Linked DNA regions of Homo sapiens: all the other regions are linked to region 3. The links are contacts of gene promoters, found by promoter capture Hi-C in human tissues and cell types (Jung and others, 2019). All regions are on one chromosome and are shown on one strand. Each heading gives the region's core, a stretch centred on a gene start or on the middle of the fragment in contact. The rest is flanking DNA. Distances are from core to core; before and after follow the strand shown.

Region 1 (3,183 bases), core at 467-2,966, 220 kb after region 3:
CTGAGACTTGCACCAGCAGTTTCTGGGGTCCTCCAGCCGGGGAGCTACACCATTAGCTTTCCTGGTTCTAAGTTTTCCGGACTTGGACTGAGCCATGCTAATGGCTTCTCAGGTTCTCCAGCTTGCAGACGGCTTATCTTTTATTTTATTTATTTATTTTTGGAGACGGAGTTTCACTCGTTGCCCAGGCTGGAGTGCAATGGCACAATCTCAGCTCACTGCAACCTCTGCCTCCTGGGTTCAAGCAATTCTCCTGCTTCAGCCTCCCAGGTTGTTGGGATTACAGGCGTGTCACCATGCCCAGCTAATTTTTGTCGCAGATGGCTTATCATGGGACTCCTCCGCCTGTGATCGTGTGAGCCAATTCCCCTAACAAATCCCACCTCATAAATCCTACTGCTTCTGTCTCTCTGGAGACTGCTGCCTAATACAGGGAAGTAATTAAGGTTAAATGAGGTTACAAAGTGTGGGGCCCTAAACCGAGAGGACTGGTGTCCTTCTAAGAAGAGGAAGAGACACCAGAGATCTCCGTCTCTCCTCAATGACAGAGAGGAAAATTCATATGTGGATACAATAAAAAGGTGGCCTTCTACAAGCCAGGAAGAAAGGCCTCAACCAGGAACCAATCCTGACAGCACCTTGATCTTGGACTTCTAGCCTCCAGAACTGTGAGAAAAATAAATGTCTGTTAGTTAAGCCACCTAGTCTACGGTACCTTGTTATGGCAGCTCAAGCTGACTGATACACACACCTGAGATAAAGGCATTCACTACTGGAGCGCAATTCAAGAATGATAACATTCAGAGGACTAAGACTTTCCTCATCCACTCGTGATTTAATTATGTCCACCAGCTTGGCCTTCCCAGGGCATTTGAATGGAGAAAATCGTGCGGGTAAGGGAATGGAGTAGGAATTATGGTCAGGGTTGGGAAGGGTCAGATCCTGCACAACCTCATGTGTGGAACTACAACTTTTAGGCTTTATCCCAAAAGCTACAAGCAGAATCACACATAGACTGTCTACTAGGCTAGTCACACAGATATGAAAGTGAATCTAGATTATTTTATAGAGACTTTAAGAAAAAACTCCCAAATAAAAAAACAAAAACAAAAACTGGGCTTTCCGTTCTCAGTTAATCAAAAAAGCCCAGCTGACCAGAACAGTTCATTCCTCAAGAATAATGGGTAATGCTGGTTTTACTTAAGTCAGTTTACAAATAGGCATCTGAAAGCAATCAATACTAACAGGATCAAAATCATCTGCCAGAATAGATTCCTTAAATGGGAAACTAAAAGATGAAAGTTACTTAGTGCCTCGGCATACACAGGCATCCAATACAGAACCTTTCTAGCCCTCAGTTTCCTCACATGTGCAATGGGGATACTAATCTCTATTCCACAGGGCACTTGAAGGATTAAATAAAATCACTTCTAGGTAAAGCAGTTACCCAGCGTTTGCCACATACCAGGAGCTTAGCAAATACTACCTTTTGTCAATGTATATGGAGGTGTGTACACCAGCTCTGAGGTATAATTTAGTTATAATGAAAGTCACTTTTTTTAAAATTATACTTTAAGTTCTAGGGTACATGTGCACAACGTGCAGGTTTGTTACATATGTATATATGTGCCATGTTGGAAAGTCACATATTTTTTAAAAATGTAAATTTCCTAAAATGAGAACTCCCCCAAAATCATAAAGGAGTGGGAAGAAAACCGTACACAGACCAAGGAAGACCTTGTATCTAGTGACACAGGAGGAAAAGCAAATCTAGAGAGAGAATAAACTGGGGTTGGAGTCCACAAACTTCTACCTTTACATATGACTACAACATGTAAAATTATATTCCCTAATAACCTACAAAGTATAGTTATGATCACCTCATGTTCCTAACTAAAACTAGACAATAACAGAGTGAATGGCAGGTTCATATTCAGCCTCAGGAGAGGAGGCTGCTCTGAAGCACTTGATAACTCTGCAGAGCCAGCCTGGGGAATGCACACAACTGGACTTTAGAAACAAAGAACTGTTTTCAGAGCATGATTAGGGCTACCTCTGCATGGTCATGGTTTTCTACTGCTGCTTTTTAATGATACATTTGTATAATTTTACCTTGTTTATTTGGTGTACCATAAGGTACACAGTGATAGGTTTTTGTATTAACAATATTTCCAGCCTGTTAACATTGAAAAACTAGCTTTTAAGACACAAGTTTCAGTTCAAATATGAATTATCTACACTCTTATGACCAAAATACATCTATGCCAGTTTCTCCAAAATCTGTGCAGGCAACAACATTTTAGATAGAACACAGTTCTTTTGCTACTGAACAGAAATAGGTGGGCTAGATTGGTTAGAATAGTGTTTTGTTTTTAAGTAATATATTTACACGGTTCTAAAATCAAACAATATATGAAAGTATACAGTAAGGAGTCCCACTCCCACTGCTACTACCTTCCCTTACCAGCTACTTCCTATTAATAACCACTTTATGTTTCTTGTGTACCCTTTGTTTCTTTAGGCATACCATATATGTGGGCAAACGTATGGTCTTATTCTCCCCCTGACTTAATACAAAAACTATACCATATACACACTGTTCTGTATTTTCCTCTTTATCATTAATATATCTTGGAGATTTTTCTATAGCAGTACATAGAGATCTTCATTTTTTCAAAGCTACACAATTTTCCATTATATAAATATTGAATACACTAAGCAGTCCAGTGTTAATGAACATCTGGGTTTCTAGTCTTTTGTTATTACAAATAATGTTGCAATGAATAATTTTTTTTTTTTTTTTTGAGACGGAGTCTAATTATGTCGCCCAGGCTGAAGTGCAGTGGTGCAATCTGGGCTCACAGCAACCTCTGCCTCCTGGGTTCAAGCAATTATCCTGCCTCAGCCTTCTGAGTAACTGGGACTACAGGCGTGCACCACCACACCCAGCTAATTTTTGTATTTTTAGTAGAGATGGGGTTTCGCCATGTTGGCCAGGCTGGTCTCAAACTCTGAACCTCAAGTGATCCTCCTGCCTCGGCCTCCCAAAGTGCTGGGATTACAGGCGTTAAGCCACCGTGCCTGGCCTCAGTGAATAATCTTGTACAGTAGTCCTCCCTTAGTCAAGACCCTCACAGTGGATACCTGAAATGGCAGATAGCACCAAACCCTATATATACTATG
Region 2 (3,016 bases), core at 181-2,680, 240 kb after region 3:
CCCAAGTAACAAAAGATAAAATGAACTTCATCAAAATTAAAGACTTTGTGTTTCAAAGGACACCATCAAGAGAGTGAAAAGACAGCTACTTAATGGGGGAAAATATTTGCAAATTACAAGGAATTAGTATCCAGAAACTAATACAACTCAATAATAAAAAGACAACCCAATCAAGAAATGGAGAAAGCAGATGAACAGACATTTCTCCAAAAGTCCAATAATAAACAGATGATCAACATTAGTCATCAGGGAAATGCAAATCAAAACCACAATGAGATACCTCTTCATACCTACTACGATGGTTATAATGAAAAAGACAAATAGTAACTATTGGCAAAGATGTGGAGAAATTAGAACCTTCATACACTGCTGGTAGATATGTAAAATGGTGCAGCTGCTTCAGAAAGCAGTCTGGCAGATCCTTAAAAATTAAACAGAGTTACCAGCAACTCCACTTCTAGGTATATACCAAGGGAAATTTTTTAGTAAGACAATCTAATAGAAAATGAAAACACGTCCACCTAAAAATTTATATGCCAATGTTCATGGCAGCATTATTAATCATAGCAGATTACTAATAATAGCCAAAAGTGGGAACAACCCAAATGTCCATCAACTGATGAATGGATAAATAAGATGTGGTCTATCCATACAGTGGAATATTTCTTGACAATAAAAAGGAATGGAGTATTGATACACGTTATGACACGGATTAACCTTGAGAACATTATGTTAAGCAAAAGAAGCCAGTCACAAAAGACCACGTATTGTTATGACTCCATTTATGTGAAATGTCCAGAATAATTAAATCTATAAAGACAGAAAGTAGATTAGTGGTTGCCTAAGGATGTGGGAGGGAGGCCTTGGGAGGAAATGGGGAGTGGCTACTGAAGAATATGGTGTTTCTTTTTTGGAGTGATGAAAATGTTTTAAAATCAATTGTGGTGACAGTGGTATATAACTCTGACTATACTAAAAAACTGAATTATATCTTTTAATATATCTTTTAAATGGGTGACTTGTATGACATGAATTATATCTCAATAAAGCTATTATTTAAAACAATAAAACACCTCATGCTCAGTTATAGAAGCTAGACATAAAAAGCCACACAGTGGACGATTCTGTTGATATGAAATATCCGTAACAGGTGATATGGTTTGGCTGTGTGCCCTCACCCAAATCTCACCTTCAATTGTAATAATCCTCATGTGTCAAGGGTGGGACCAGGTGGAGGTGACTGGATCATGGAGGCAGGTCCCCCATGCTGTTCTCGTGATAACGAGGGAGTCTCATGAGATCTGATGATTTTATAAGTGTCTGGCATTTCCCCTGCTTGCACTCACTCTGTCCTGCTGCCCTGTGAAGAAGGTGCCTGCTTCTCCTTTGCCTTCTGCCATGATTGTGAGTTTCCTGAGGCCTCCCAGGCCACATGGAACTGTGAGTCAATTAAACCTCCTTCCTTTATAAACTACCCAGTCTCAGGTATTTCTTCATTGCAGCATGAGAACGGACTGACAGAACAGGCATATTATGGACATTATGGATATTTCACAACAGGCATAATACAGACATAAAATAGATTAACGGCTGCCAGAGCTGGGGAGAAGGGGAGATGGGGAGTGACTGCTAATTTGTACAAGATTTCTTTTTGGCGTGATAAAAATGTTCTGGTTATCACTGCACAATACTGATGGGTGGTTACAAGAATTAACTTTATGTAAATTATATTTCAATAAAGCTGTTATTGCTGGGGAGGCAGGGTGGCTCGTGCCTATAATCCCAGCTACTGAAGAAGGTGAGGCAGGAAGATCATTTGAGACCAGGAGTTGGAGACTGCCTAAGGAACAAAGCAAGACCCCCATATCTCTAACAAATATTAAAAAATTAGCCACGTGTGATGGCATGAACCTGTAGTCCCAGCTACTCGGGAGACTGAGGCAGGAGGATCACTAGAGCCCAGGGGTTCAAGGCTGCAGTGAGCTAGGATCGTACCACTGCACTCCAGCCTGTGACACAGTGCAACTCTATCTCTAAAATCATCCCAACAATTTTTAAAAGCTGTAATTAAAAAAAATTCTGTTAAACAAATTCTAGGTTAATATAAACAGAAAAAAATAAATGTTAGAAAGGAATACTCCCGAATCTTAACAGTGGTTGAATTTTGGTGACAAGTCCCAAGACAGTTTTTCACATTTTCCTTGACAAACACCTTTTCCTTTTAAAATGAGAAAAATTAGGACCTTTGTTTTCCAAAAAAGTCCAATTTTCACTTAAAGCATTTAAAAATTATCTATATGCTGAGAATATGACTAAGCCCATATGTTTAAAGACATTCCCTATATACGTATGTATTTTTTATTATTGTTTAAATCAAGCTAGGAGCTACCCCAGAACAAAAAGAAAAATTCTTCCTTAGCCCCTTCTAGCTATAGGCCAATACTTAGGCAGCATGTCCAAGACACCTCAAGCCAAATGAAGAAGGAAGATTCCATAGCATTTTTTAAATTAAAAAGCCAGCAGGCAAATCTTTGAGACTAGACAGTTCAGCTTGAGGGTCTGAGAAAGCCTCTGCTCATCTCAAACCAGCAACAAATCTTTAGAAAGTAATTCACATGCCATGAGATTGCTCGTGGCATGAATGTGACACTATAATTCAACATCCTGAATTAAGAGAGATGTGTTATTTTAGCTTAAAGCAGCAGATTAAAAATAAAAATCCTAAACTACTACACCACAGATTGTCAATTCTAGAGAAGCACTGGGCTCAGCTTTCTGCACATCTGTATTTATTGTTAACTGCACTTGCAGGAGGGAAAAGAAAGAAGTCTCATGACTTGAGGCAACAATGAAAACTGCCCTGAACATATGCCTGCTTTGCTTTGTATAATAGAGACCTAAGGTCATCCTCTAGAAAAGGTGAAGTAATTATTATACAGTATATAACCATTTTATAGCCTGTTTTCATCATGAATTTTCCCATATTACTATAACTTTAACATTATATTAACAACTT
Region 3 (3,168 bases), core at 182-2,681:
GAATGTTATGCTTCATTTCTTAACACCTTTCTCCCAGCTAGCAAATTCCTTTAAGGCAATGTGTTTAGTGAGGAAGCAGCCGACAATTTCTAGTACCCCTCTGCCACTAACTTGTAAGATCTTGAAAAGTCAACTTTACCTTTCTATGTTTCAGCTAAAATCACTACCTGATTTGAAATCTTTACTTGATCTCTCAGGCCTTTGTAGTTTTTATACATTCACTCTTCTTCACCATTTTACTGGCTTCAATAACGCCTTTCTGATGACCTCTCCAGGTGACTCTGCTCTTAAGCTGTGGGCTGTCCCCTTCCAGGGAAGACACCTTGGGTCACCGCCCCCAAACAGCCAGGTCCCTCCTTTTAAAGACACACACAACTCCCTAAGTTGATAAAGGTTCTCTCCTTCCTTGCCAACCAGTTCCACTCTCTGTGCCTCTTTTGCTGGCCAGCTCCTGCACCCAAACCTCAGTCTCCCTTTGTCCCCCTTTTCTCTCATCAAACACCTCCTTTTTCCTGTTGCTTCCCCCAAGAGGGGGTGGAGGATGCTTGGGACATAAGTCTTCAGAGCCTTGGGAGTTATACAGCTTTGCAATTCAGCCCCAGTACCCCAAGGACTGCCCCAATCTGAACCAGCGTCTGTACCCAAAGGGCCCTCATTCCTCATCAATCACCTCCTTCCCTCCCAGCAAAGAACTGCTCCAGCCCTGACAGCCTGAGCTTGGCCCCCATGCCTCCACCCCAATCCCCAGGTCCTACCTGCATTAGGGCTCTAACACCGCCTAAGGCCTAACCCAGTTCCACGTCCTGCCATCCTCTCAGCCCATAGACCCCAATCCCGGTTCCCTTCGGACCCAGTGTTCCTTCTCCGCGACCCTGACCACGACCCCACGACCGGCTCCCGCCTGTTCCCCAGGCCTGGAGCGCCACCCCGTGCAGACCCCGGCCAGCCCTGCACTCCCTCAGTGCACCGGCCCCCGCGCCCAGCACCCTCCCCACCCAGCCCGGCCGCCGCTCCCTCCAGCGCCCCCGCCCGCAGGCCTGGGGCCCGCTCCCCAACATGGCGACGGGGACACAAGCGCGGCGGGCGGGGCGGCTCCGGGCCGGGCCCGCTCTCAGACCGTGCCACTCGGTCGCCCGGCGCCATTTTTCCGCGCGGGCCCGGGCGGCGCCTCCTCCCCGCGAAGCCAGCCCGACAAGGACCGCGGACGCCCGGCGGGCCCACCCCTTACGGGCCCGCGCCGCCGTCCCCTCACCTGAGCGCGGCCCCGGCCCTCCCGGGCGGGCCTTGGAGCGCCGGCCCGGGCCGTGCGTGCCCGCCGCCCTCGGTGCGTCCGTCCGTCAGTCCTCGCGTGCGCCCGTCTGTCCCGCCGCCCGCGCCCGGCCGCCCGCAGCCCGACCCGGCAGGGCCTCACGGAGCCGGCGGGGAGGGGGATGGGCCGGACCGGGCCGGGGAGGGAGGGGGAGGGAGGGAGAGAGGGAGGGAGCGCGAGAGGGGGCGGGGCGGACTCGAGGGGCGGGGCATTGCCCACGTGACCAGACGTCCCCGGGAGCGCGAGGTGGAGCGCGCGCCAGCTCCCTTCGGTGCTGAGTGCTTAGTGCTGGGATCTCGTGGGTCTCTGTCGGCTTTCCAGGGCTATTCTCTCGCCAGTGAGTCCCACTTCGGAAGCACACATTGCACAGTCTTTTGCGAGCGCTCTGAGTATCCTTGGACATGGCAACTCCAAGCCTCAGTTTACCCATCTGAAATATGGGGAAAATCATAGTGCTTGTGAAGAGCAAATGGAGGTGGGCTTGGAAAGCACTTGTCACCGTGCCTGACACATACTGTCTAATAATAAGCTTAATGGGATATAGATAAAAGCTTTCATTATTATTTGCCTCTAAATCCCTCTCTTCTTTTTCCCATCATTACCTCCCTAGCAAGCTAAAATGCTCAGTAAATAGAATTATTGATCGAACGAGTGTGGCCCCTCCCCTCTTCCCAAACGTAGAAAGGCCTCCTCAGCACTGGACTTCATGTCTGTCATACAGGCCTGGATTCATATCTGGCTTTCACTCTTTTTTAAAAATTTTCTGTTTTTTCCCACACTACACTGATGTATTTTTTAAATTTTCGTAAGTACGTAGTAGGTGAATATATTTATGGGGTACATGAGATTTTGATACAGGCATGCGATGTGTAATCACATCATGGTAAATGGGGTATCTAGCAACTCAAGCATTTATCCTTTGTGTTACAAATAACCCAATTATACTCTAGTTATTTTAAAATGTACAAGTAAATTTTGTGTGTGTGTGGTTTTTTTTTTGTTTTTTGTTTTATTTTTGTTTTTTTGAGACGGAGTCTCACTCCGTCGCCCAGGCTGGAGTGCAGTGGCGCGATCTCAGCTCACTGCAACTTCCGCCTCCCTGGTTCAAGGGATTCGCCTGCCTCAGCCTCCTGAGTAGCTGGTACTACAGGCGCATGCCACCACGCCCAGCTAATTTTTGTATATTTTTTAAGTAGAGATGGGGTTTCACCATATTGGCCGGGCTGGTCAGGAACTCCTGACCTCATGATCCGCCCGCCTCTGCCCCTCAAAGTGCTGGGATTATAGGCGTGAGCCACCGCGCCCGGCCAATTGTTTTTTACTGTAGTCACCTTCTTGTGCTAGCAAATACTAGGTCTTATTCTTTCTAACTATTCTTTTGTACCCGTTAATCATTCCCACTTCCCACCTACCTCCCCATTAATCTTACCAGCCTCTGGTAACCCTCCTTCTATTCTCTATCTCCATGAGTTCAATTGTTTTAATTTTTCGCTCCTGGCCCGGCATGGTGGCTCACGCCTGTAATCCTAGCACTTTGGGAGGCCAAGATGGGCGGATCACCTGAGGTCAGGAGTTCAAGACCAGCCTGGCCAACATGGTGAAACCCTGTCTCTACTAAAATACAAAAGCTAGGTGGGCATGATGGCGGGTGCCTGTAATCCCAGCTACTCAGGAGGCTGAGACGGGAGAATCTCTTGAACCTGGGAGATGGTGGTTGCGGTGAGCCTAGCTCGCGCCACTGCACTCCAGCCTAGGTGGCTGAGTGAGACTCCGTCTCAAAAAAAAATAAAAAATAGTTAATTTTTTGCTCCCACAAATAAGTGAGAACATGTGAAGTTTGTCTTTCTGTGCCCGGCTTC
Region 4 (3,050 bases), core at 282-2,781, 220 kb before region 3:
GCTCACACCTGTAATCCCAAAACTTTGGAAGGCCAAGGCGGGCAGATCACCTGAGGTCAGGAGTTTAAGACCAGCCTGGACAACATGGTGAAAACCCGTCTCCATTAAAAATACAAAAATTAGCCAGGTGTGGTGGTAGGTGCCTGTAATCCCAGCTACTTGGGAGGCTCAGGTGGGAGAATTGCTTGAACCCGGGAGGCAGAGGTTGCAGTGAGCCGAGACTGCGCCAGTGCACTCCAGCCTGGGCAACAGAGCAAGACTCCATCATAAAATGAAATGAAATAAAATAAAATATATGTATGGCTGGGTGCGGTGGCTCACATCTGTAATCCTAGCACTTTGGGAGGCCGAGGTGGGCGGATGACTTGAGGTCAGGAGTTCAAGAACAGCCTGGCCAACATAGTGAATCCCTGTCTCTACTAAAAATACAAAAGTTAGCCAGGCGTGGTGGTGGGTGCCTGTAATCCCAGCTACTTGGGAGGCTGAGGCAGGAAAATCGCTTTAACCTGGGAGGTGGAGGTTGCAGTGAGCTGAGATTGTGCCACAGCACTCCAGCCTGGGCGACACAGCAAGACTCCATCTTAAAAAACAAACAAAAAAATAAAATGTATGTATGTATGTAAGTAGAAGGGTTACAAGAATGATGCCCTAAAAACTCTATCAATTTTTTAAACCATTTTATTACAAACACAAAATGCAGGAAATTACATAGAATATAAAGCTTAATGAATGATTGTAAGGTGAACATCCTTATAACCACTACCAAGGTCGAGAGAAAGAACTTTCCAGGCATTCCCCAAGTTCCTCCATGTTCCCTGATCCAACCACAATCCCCTCCTCCCTCCAAAGTAATCACTACCCTGGCTTTGGTAATAATCACTTCCTTGCATTTCTTTATGGTTTTCCACTTACATGTGCATCCCTTTCTATAGTTTAGGTCTTGCCTATTTTTAAAATTTTTGATACAATTTTTAAGTCTCTTAATTCATAATTCCTCCACTCCAGCCTACTCCTGCCCATATCTTTTTTTTTTTTCTTGTTACAATTCATATGTTACAGAATCTGGGACATTTAACCCATATAACATCCCATAATCTGGATTTTCTAATTATGTACCTTGTTTTCAGTATTTCTTGCAAATTGCAGCTATATCCAGAGGCTTGATCAATTTTGGATTTTATCCTTTTGGCAAACTTTGGTGGTGGGTAATGTTCTTTTGTCAGGAGGCTTGGTTTTTGTTTCTGATGTCAGCAGTTATTGATGCTCAGTACCTAGACCATAAGGGGTTGTAAAATGATGCTATCCTATCATTTTGTTTTCATTTGTAAGTTGAAATAATTTTATAAAGATATATTTCTGTCACCTACTATATGGTTATCTAGTGGTACAGGAAAGGCAGGACAAATACTTATTTTTTTCCTTTATCCAGTTTTCAATACAATGAACTGATTTCTTATCAATTCTCCTAATTTAGCCAAGTAGGTTTCCTTTTTAGTAACATTATGAGTGCCTGGATTTAAATATATTTATGAGTTTTAATCTATTGCAATTCTTACCTTACTGAAACTCAAATTATCCCTCTTTGGTCAGTGGGAGCCTCTTCAAGTTAGATCCTAAGTCCTTTCAAGATGACTCCAGTAGACTTTGATAAACTTTCATGTTATCTGTTATCACAACATTCTAGGATCATCCTATACATTTCCTGCCCTAAAACCTAGAATTAGCCATTTCCCTAAGAAACCCCAGTTTCTCTAAATGGGTAAATGGTATTTCAAGATCATAATTTGGGCACTAAGAATGTTCATTCATACTGGGTTGGTCATTGTTTCTAGACCTTTTAGTGGACAGACACACACACACACACACACACACACACCACACCCCTACAGGGGACCAGGCAGGTAACAAACAAGTGAAGGTGAGAGAAATGAAACAGGGACTGTGGCAATCTGAAGAGGGTACGCTCTGCCTAAAGGGGACAGATCTTACAATTCCTCAAAAGGAGCCAGAAATAAAAAATTTCCACATGAATTTTTAAAATGCTGACTACTAATTTCAAAAAAGTCAAACACCAGGGTCAAATGAACCACATCTGTGGGGCCAGATGTGATCCAAGGGTTATGTGCACCCTCAACCTGAAAATGTTAACTCGCAGTTACAATATTCCAGGAGTCACATTGTTGCTAATATATAAAAAATATTTAGGGAAATTAAGAATTCTCAGACTGCTTCAGAAAAACCCCAGCTACATTAAGATTATCTTCCTCTCCCCAAGTCTCTACAGCACTAGGGAGAAAAGCATTTTCTGTACAGAAACCATTTCCTTTCTCAGACACGATGTGAAAGGGAAAAAGCCAGTTATCCAAATAAACTCTTAAAGGGAGTTAACCTAACAATGTTTTTACATGTAAGTTCTTGGAATCACAAGAAGAGATCCAGGAGATATATTTTGCATGACAGATATATTAGAGGAAACAAAACTGGTAGAAAACTTTATTGAAAATGCTTGATCAAGCTCTTGCCTTCATTTTTACCCATTCCAAAAAGAAACAAAGCTAACAGCACTGCTACCTCTGCCCTAGCACACACCTGGACATAGCAGAAATAACAGAAAGTGACTGGGGAAGAAAAAATAAGGTGTGAAAACTCTAAATATGGCCCCAGAGAAGGCTTGGGGAAGGACCCGTTATCAAGAAATAACTGATTGAGTTTGGCTCCTCTGGTATAAGCTACCATCACATAACCTGACCCAAGCTCCAGAAAGGATAAAAAAAAATCACAGGATTAACGTTTTCAGTTCAAAGACAAGAAAAGGTCAGACTGGATTAAAGCAAAACCAAAAGAGTACTCACGGGGTAATTTCCCCTAGTGTCTGCTACTGTCTTTGAAAGAAAATAAAGGCCTCAAACCATCCAAGGGAATCCAAGGCTTTAGGAATCCCAAGCAAAAGGAAGATGGGAACTAGAAACTTCCCAGACTGCACCATGAGCATCTCGGTAAGCCTCGCCTGGTCTCCCTCGAAGCCTTACAGCTTCAGCTTCTCGGTCCTG
Region 5 (3,163 bases), core at 260-2,759, 180 kb before region 3:
CAGGCTGGTCTTGAACTCCTGACCTCGTGATCTGCCTGCCTCAGCCTCCCAAAGTGTTGGGATTACAGGCGTGAGCCACAGCGCCCGGCTATAAAGGGCTTTTTCTAATCATTGAAGCTGCATCTACGTTCATTTGCATCCCCAAAAACTATGGTGGGGTCGGGGAGAGGAAACACTCCACCCCTGTCCCTACTCCTCTCCAACTGTTAGCCTCAGCACATTCCAAATTCAGGAGCCTAGCCTCCAAATTTACAACCCTCTAATCATATTAAGGGGACACAGGTTTTTATCATCCATTATCAAACCACCTGCAGCTCTCTTAACATAAATTCTGAGTTCCAAACAAGAAGCACCATCTCAGCAAAGGACAGACTAGACTAACATTGTTTTTGTCAAGTGAGATAGATGTAAAATGTCATGATAACCAACTGGTCACCATCAGCATTCAGTCCGCAGGCTAACAGCTGGAGAGGGGGTGGGGGTGCAGTCCCCTCTCTGCCCTATAGTTCTCCCAGATGCATCTGTGTGTAGACATAGTTTCATTACCAAGGATAAAAAGACTCAAATCCCACCAAGATTTAAATACTTCCCAGACTATGCGATATGAACCCTTCTGACAAAGGGAAGAAGATTTAGAGGAAGACATGCTGCTATCCTACCTAAATCAACAGTAGTATGTTAGTATCATCAAAATCTGCCATTTAAAATGAGTTAATTTTTGACAGAGCATACATAAAACTTCTATTCTGATGAAGAAACCTAATGTTCTAATAGTCTGAACTCTAAAAGTGGAAAAACAAAAACATTCCAAATTTTACTTCAGTCTTGGTAATAACAGAATGTCTTGGTGCACTAAAAACCAGGGTATTGACAACACCGTTTGGCTTTCTCTCTCCCTCTTTAAATCATGCAAAGAAAAAAACCCAAAAATCTCTATATATTTCCAAATAAACTCAGCAATAACAAACAAATTATTGGTGCTCTAAATTAAAGGCATCTCTCCTGTTGACATTGAAGCCTGACTTTGTTAGGCAATTAACTGAAACCTAGTTTCATTGCTTCCTCATAAACTAACCCTACCATTAAAAACTGTTTTGTTTTGAGACAGTGTTTCACTCTGTCACTCAGGCGGGAGTGCAGTGGCATGACCACAGCTCACTGCAGCCTTGACCTCCCATGCTCAAGCCATCCACCTGTCTCAGTCTCCAGAGTAGCTGGGCCTACAGGCACATACCACCACTCCTGGCTAATTTTTTAAAGAATTTTTTGTAGAGACAGGGTCCCACTATATTGCCCAGGCTGGTCTTAAGCAAAAAATTGTTTTAACTAGGGAGTGTGAGAGGTTTTTTGATGAGAATTGAGCAGGAAAAAAAAAATACATATGGCATTAGCATCTAATCAACTTTCATTAAAACACAGTTCAGTTTTACATTTTGGTTATAAAGATCTGGGTAATTGTGGTCTTAGATGAAAGCTACCAATCCTGCCTCAGCTATTCATATCTATATCACACATATATATATCTCATATATATATATATATATATATATGCACACACACATATCTCATATATATATATATATATATGCACACACACAAGTTTATTTTTTCCCTAGTCTTTTTTTTTTTTTTTTTTTTGGAGATTCACTTTCAAAAAGTTTCACTCTGTTGCCCAGGCTGGAGTACAGTGGCGCGATCTTGGCTCACTCCAATCTCCACCACCTGGGTTCAATTGATTCTTATGCCTCAGCCTCCCAAGTAGGTGGGATTACAGGTGCACACCATCACACTTGGCTAATTTTTGTATTATTGGTAGAGACTGTCTACCTACCCAACCTATTTCGGAGAAGAGAACAGTCACTGCTAATTTATATCTGAATTCCTCAGCTTATGAAACCCATGCCCAATTATTTCATCTACGGCCCTCAAGAGAATCCTGTTAAAGCATTTCATCTCAGCCCCTAAAGTTTTCAAGATATGCTCCATTAGTTTAAGATATATACTCCCTGGTCTTGGTGATACTAAGTCCCTAAAATATAGTTCTTAATTTTAGAGGAAGAGTCAAAGACCACACACCAATAACAGCTATGAACTCTTGGAAACAATGATATACACACACACACATATAATTCTCCATACCATTTCCACAGTTTTATAGGCCCATTAAGGCCAAGTTAAGAACCCTCAGTCTAGATATTTTTTAAAATCTCTCTGGGGTCTAAAATTCTAGAATTCACCAGCTTCATCTGTCACTGATGACCAGTGACACAGAAAGCACACTGCTATTTCTGGTTTCATTAGTAACAAAAGCTAAAATGAACCACAAACAGACAATGCCAATGAGATGCAGCCTTATTTCACCCCAGCCTAAATCTTCTCTCTCAGTGGCTCCCAGCCAATCAAGGAGTGTTGTAGCCATTTAACTACATGGGTAGTACACATGGTTAATCTGTTAACTTTCTCAGACCCCAGGAAAAGAAGAATGGTCCCACTATGCAATTCTCCTTGGCTATTACATATGGATTAAGACTGAAGTTTATATCAGGCATTTAATACATGTCAAATTTTCCAATTAAGATTACTTTCTGCAGGGAGACAGAAATGACATTGAGAATCCAATTTTACCTCAGATAGGCATAACAGTGACTTAAAAGCTGTATTTATCTTCCTATGCAAAAAAAAAAAAAAAAAAAAAAGACTGGTGAAAGACTAGAAGATTTTTAAGGGTCCTCATTAACGACAGGTAATATAACTGTTATTCAGCACTACTCCAGAAGTCTGAACTTGCACAGGTATGTGGATATTAATAGTTATTAATAAGCTACATAGATGAAGCTGGCCCTTCTTTATCTGTTAGTAAAGCTGTCTTGTGGGTTTGGGGTTGATCATTCCAGAGCTGGCTGAACAGGCCAGAAGTTTCACCATCACTTCCTAGCACTTTAAAGCATCTGGATCCTTAAGTATAAGATCTTTGTAATAACAAAGACCAGAAGGTTACCAAATTCCACCAGCTTTGCTCCACCCACAAACTACTTACCACAACTTTATTGAAGTCCTGGATTGCAAAATACAGGGCAATAGCAGTGAGTGCATCAGTTATCTGTCAAAAGAAAGAGAAATAATAGGAAATGGAACACAGTAAGTGTAAGAGTACTAGAGTGCT
Region 6 (3,112 bases), core at 127-2,626, 170 kb after region 3:
CACGCTGGTCTTGAACTCCTGGGCTCAAGCAATCCACCCGCCTTGGCTTCCCAAAGTGTTGTGATTATGGGCGTGAGCCACCGCACCCAGCCAACCCCCCAGGGATTTTAAGTGGAGTGTCCCTAGTGTCCCAGTGTGGTGACGCATCCCTGGCCCCCTTGTTTGGCATGTGCCCTGCTGGAACCTCTGCACCAGCCTCGGAGAGGCCCAGGAACGAGTCCCCTGCTACCCACACGAGCCTCCTCAGTCCCTGACTTCCCCATTCTCAGTGGCCTGTGCCCCATACCCAGCCCTCTCCTGACCAGCTCTGCCCTCCTTTCCCAGGTACCGTATCCTGAACCCCAGTGCCATCCCGGATGACACCTTCATGGACAGCAGGAAGGCCACAGAGAAACTGCTGGGCTCGCTGGACTTGGATCACACCCAGTACCAGTTTGGCCACACCAAGGTCGGGGCACTGTGGGATCAGGGCTGGCCATGGCTGTGGCGGTCACACTGGGCAGGGTTCATGCGGATGGTTGGGGGTTACCCTGGCTGTCTACCTCTCCGCCCCCAGGTGTTCTTCAAGGCTGGGCTTCTAGGCGTCCTGGAAGAGCTCCGTGACCAGCGCCTGGCCAAGGTGCTGACGCTGCTGCAGGCGCGGAGCCGTGGCCGCCTCATGCGCCTTGAGTACCAGCGCCTGCTGGGAGGCAGGTGGGTGTGGGAAGGAGGCTGGGGACAGGGTGTGTCCCCTGCCTCTCAGCTCCCAGACCCACTGGCTCTCCCAACCCTAACATGCTGCCCTGTAGTCAGATCAGCCCCTGTGGCTGGTTGGGGCAAGGTTCTGTTCTGTGTCCCCCAGCCTCCATTTCCCCACCTCAAAAAACGGGGTACGGCACTTGCCTCTCCATTTCAGGACATCAGCGTGTGGCCCGGAGGGGTAGCGATGGCACCCAGTGTCTTCCAAGACTCTTGCGGGCCGGGCCCCAGGCAAGATACTTTCTCTGCATTATCCTGGTTAAAGCGCTGACGGTCCTGAGAAACAGGCGCTGTGATGGCCTCCACTCAGCAGAAGGGTGCCCGTGTCAGAGATCCAGAGCTAGCTGGCACGTCAGCCCAGGCCGCTGACTCCAGAGCCCCGTGGCTTAACAGCCCTGGTGTCTTCCGGGAATTGCAGAGGCCACCAGGACATGGGGGGCTCATGAGCCCCTTCACTGGAGGCAGGCCTGTGGGACTGTGGGCCTCCCCTCACCCTCACCTATAAAGCAGAGCTATTAGGAGCTACTCCATGAGGCTGCTGGGAAGGCAAAACAAGTGAACTGTGCTGAGTGTCACCATTTGTGACGGGCAGCACTGAGCCACCTTCACAGCTTGGCTGCCCCTCCCTAGGGATGCGCTGTTCACCATCCAGTGGAACATCCGTGCCTTCAATGCCGTCAAGAACTGGTCATGGATGAAGCTCTTTTTCAAGATGAAGCCGCTGCTGCGCTCGGCGCAGGCTGAGGAGGAGCTGGCGGCCCTGCGGGCAGAGCTGCGGGGGTTGCGAGGGGCGCTGGCTGCGGCCGAGGCCAAGCGCCAGGAACTGGAGGAGACGCACGTCAGCATCACCCAGGAGAAGAATGACCTGGCCCTGCAGCTGCAGGCTGTGAGTCAGGGTTCCCCTTGTGACCGGGCGTCCCCAGCCCCGAGTACCCCTGGCTGCTCTGAGGGATAGTACAGCGAGACCCATGGGGCTCAGGCCTTATGTCTCTCTGTTCCAAAGATGCCATGAGATGAGGCCTCCATGTCCCAGCCTCACCACCCCAAGGCCTCGTCTGGCACGTTTCCTGGCACTCTCCCCTCGTGCCACCTTGGCCTCCCGCTAAAGCAGAGGAACCCCAGCTCCCCAGCTCTCCCCTCCCTGCAATCCCTGAAACCAAACAGACCCATGCTCTCTTCTCTGGTTAAGGGCCATGGGAACCCAGGTGGCAGGTAACAGGGTGATAGCCAGAGAGCACAGATCAAAGGTCTGGAATCTCCCCAGGTCCACAGAGCAAGCTTTCCTGCCTTCGGCACATGGCTTTGTGTATCAATTGTGTGCCAGGCTCAGGCTAGTGCAGGAGGAACGTTGGTGGGAAGACAGAGATGGCCCTGTGGTCACAAAACTCACCTGCTAGTGCAGGAGACTGTGACGCAGCTGGACAGTAAGGAAATGGGGGGTAAGGATACCTGAGCCCTTCCAGGGACTGCCTCCAGGAGCCCGTCCGTGGCTGTGCAGAGGCTGCTGCTGCTCACCCTGCCCCTCGGAAGGCCTCAGCCCAACAGCGGGGCAGTGAGCAGCGGGCTTCCCTCTCAGAACCCTTGTTTGGGCCTCACTCTGGGCCGCCCCGCACTTCTAACTTTCCCCTCTTAATGCTCTGGTGTGTCCCTCTGCGCTATTGCCCTTCCATGCCCAAGAGCGAGTCAAGACATTCCTGAGTTCTCAGAGCACAGCCAAACTTTGCTACAGAGGCAGTTTCCTCTCCAGGGCCTGGCCTGGTGTCTCTCTGCTGGTTTACCTGGCCCTCCCCCAACCTGGCCCCGTTCCGTGTGCCCTCCAGGAGCAGGACAACCTGGCAGATGCCGAGGAGCGCTGCCACTTGCTGATCAAGTCCAAGGTGCAGCTGGAGGGGAAGGTGAAGGAGCTGAGTGAGCGGCTGGAGGATGAGGAGGAGGTGAACGCTGACCTGGCCGCCCGCCGGCGCAAGCTGGAGGACGAGTGCACGGAGCTCAAGAAGGACATTGATGACCTGGAGCTGACACTGGCCAAAGCTGAGAAGGAGAAGCAAGCCACTGAGAACAAGGTGTGGGCCGGGCCAGCTGTGGGGAAGGGCCCTGAGCCAGGGGCCAGCTTTGGGGCCAGGTGGCTGCAGGTCCCACCCCGGCTCTGCTAAGCCTCTGCTTTCTGGCCCTGGGCATGTCACTGCCTTTCCTGGGCCTCAGTTTCTTTATCTGTCAAGTGGGGTTAGCAGCACTTACCCCATTAGGGTAGGTGGTGATGTGTGTAATTGGCCTTTACTGAGCACACGCTCCTAGGCCTTGCACACGGTAGGTGTTTAGCACATGCTGGCAATCCTCATCCATCCCGGAGTGCAAGCCCCTTGAGGGCAGGAAC

The links. The method cuts DNA at HindIII sites, captures the fragments that hold promoters and counts their contacts. A contact is called where the count stands out against the background at its distance.
Region 1: a contact is called between a fragment that was not itself captured here and the fragment with the promoter of NCOA6 in region 3, in 2 of the 25 tissues and cell types used here (pancreas and small bowel).
Region 2: a contact is called between a fragment that was not itself captured here and the fragment with the promoter of NCOA6 in region 3, in 2 of the 25 tissues and cell types used here (IMR-90 fibroblasts and lymphoblastoid cells).
Region 4: a contact is called between a fragment that was not itself captured here and the fragment with the promoter of NCOA6 in region 3, in 2 of the 25 tissues and cell types used here (IMR-90 fibroblasts and aorta).
Region 5: a fragment that was not itself captured here is called in contact with the fragment with the promoter of NCOA6 in region 3 in 1 of the 25 tissues and cell types used here (hippocampus).
Region 6: a fragment that was not itself captured here is called in contact with the fragment with the promoter of NCOA6 in region 3 in 2 of the 25 tissues and cell types used here (hippocampus and lymphoblastoid cells).

The regions. Positions count from the first base shown.
Region 1 is chr20:35,040,461-35,043,643 of GRCh38, forward strand. The region is part of intron 7 of TRPC4AP (transient receptor potential cation channel subfamily C member 4 associated protein); the gene reads right to left. Among named protein-coding and RNA genes, the nearest start is that of TRPC4AP, 51 kb to the right of the region's middle. The HindIII fragment of the contact is 7,224 bases long and covers 1-3,183 here.
Region 2 is chr20:35,061,825-35,064,840 of GRCh38, forward strand. All of the region lies in intron 3 of TRPC4AP (transient receptor potential cation channel subfamily C member 4 associated protein), which reads right to left. Among named protein-coding and RNA genes, the nearest start is that of TRPC4AP, 29 kb to the right of the region's middle. The HindIII fragment of the contact is 7,597 bases long and covers 1-3,016 here.
Region 3 is chr20:34,824,220-34,827,387 of GRCh38, forward strand. It overlaps NCOA6 (nuclear receptor coactivator 6), which reads right to left and starts at 1,432. Exons shown (of 15, transcript NM_014071.5): 1 at 1,253-1,432. RefSeq lists silencers at 899-1,338, 1,349-1,538. The HindIII fragment of the contact is 14,831 bases long and covers 1-3,168 here.
Region 4 is chr20:34,602,014-34,605,063 of GRCh38, forward strand. All of the region lies in intron 7 of PIGU (phosphatidylinositol glycan anchor biosynthesis class U), which reads right to left. Among named protein-coding and RNA genes, the nearest start is that of MAP1LC3A, 45 kb to the left of the region's middle. The HindIII fragment of the contact is 4,519 bases long and covers 1-3,050 here.
Region 5 is chr20:34,641,127-34,644,289 of GRCh38, forward strand. PIGU (phosphatidylinositol glycan anchor biosynthesis class U) reads right to left here. Exons shown (of 12, transcript NM_080476.5): 4 at 3,038-3,100. Among named protein-coding and RNA genes, the nearest start is that of PIGU, 34 kb to the right of the region's middle. The HindIII fragment of the contact is 5,754 bases long and covers 1-3,163 here.
Region 6 is chr20:34,992,778-34,995,889 of GRCh38, forward strand. MYH7B (myosin heavy chain 7B) reads left to right here. Exons shown (of 45, transcript NM_020884.7): 25 at 325-448; 26 at 557-693; 27 at 1,369-1,624; 28 at 2,559-2,801. Among named protein-coding and RNA genes, the nearest start is that of MIR499B, 3.9 kb to the left of the region's middle. The HindIII fragment of the contact is 8,137 bases long and covers 1-3,112 here.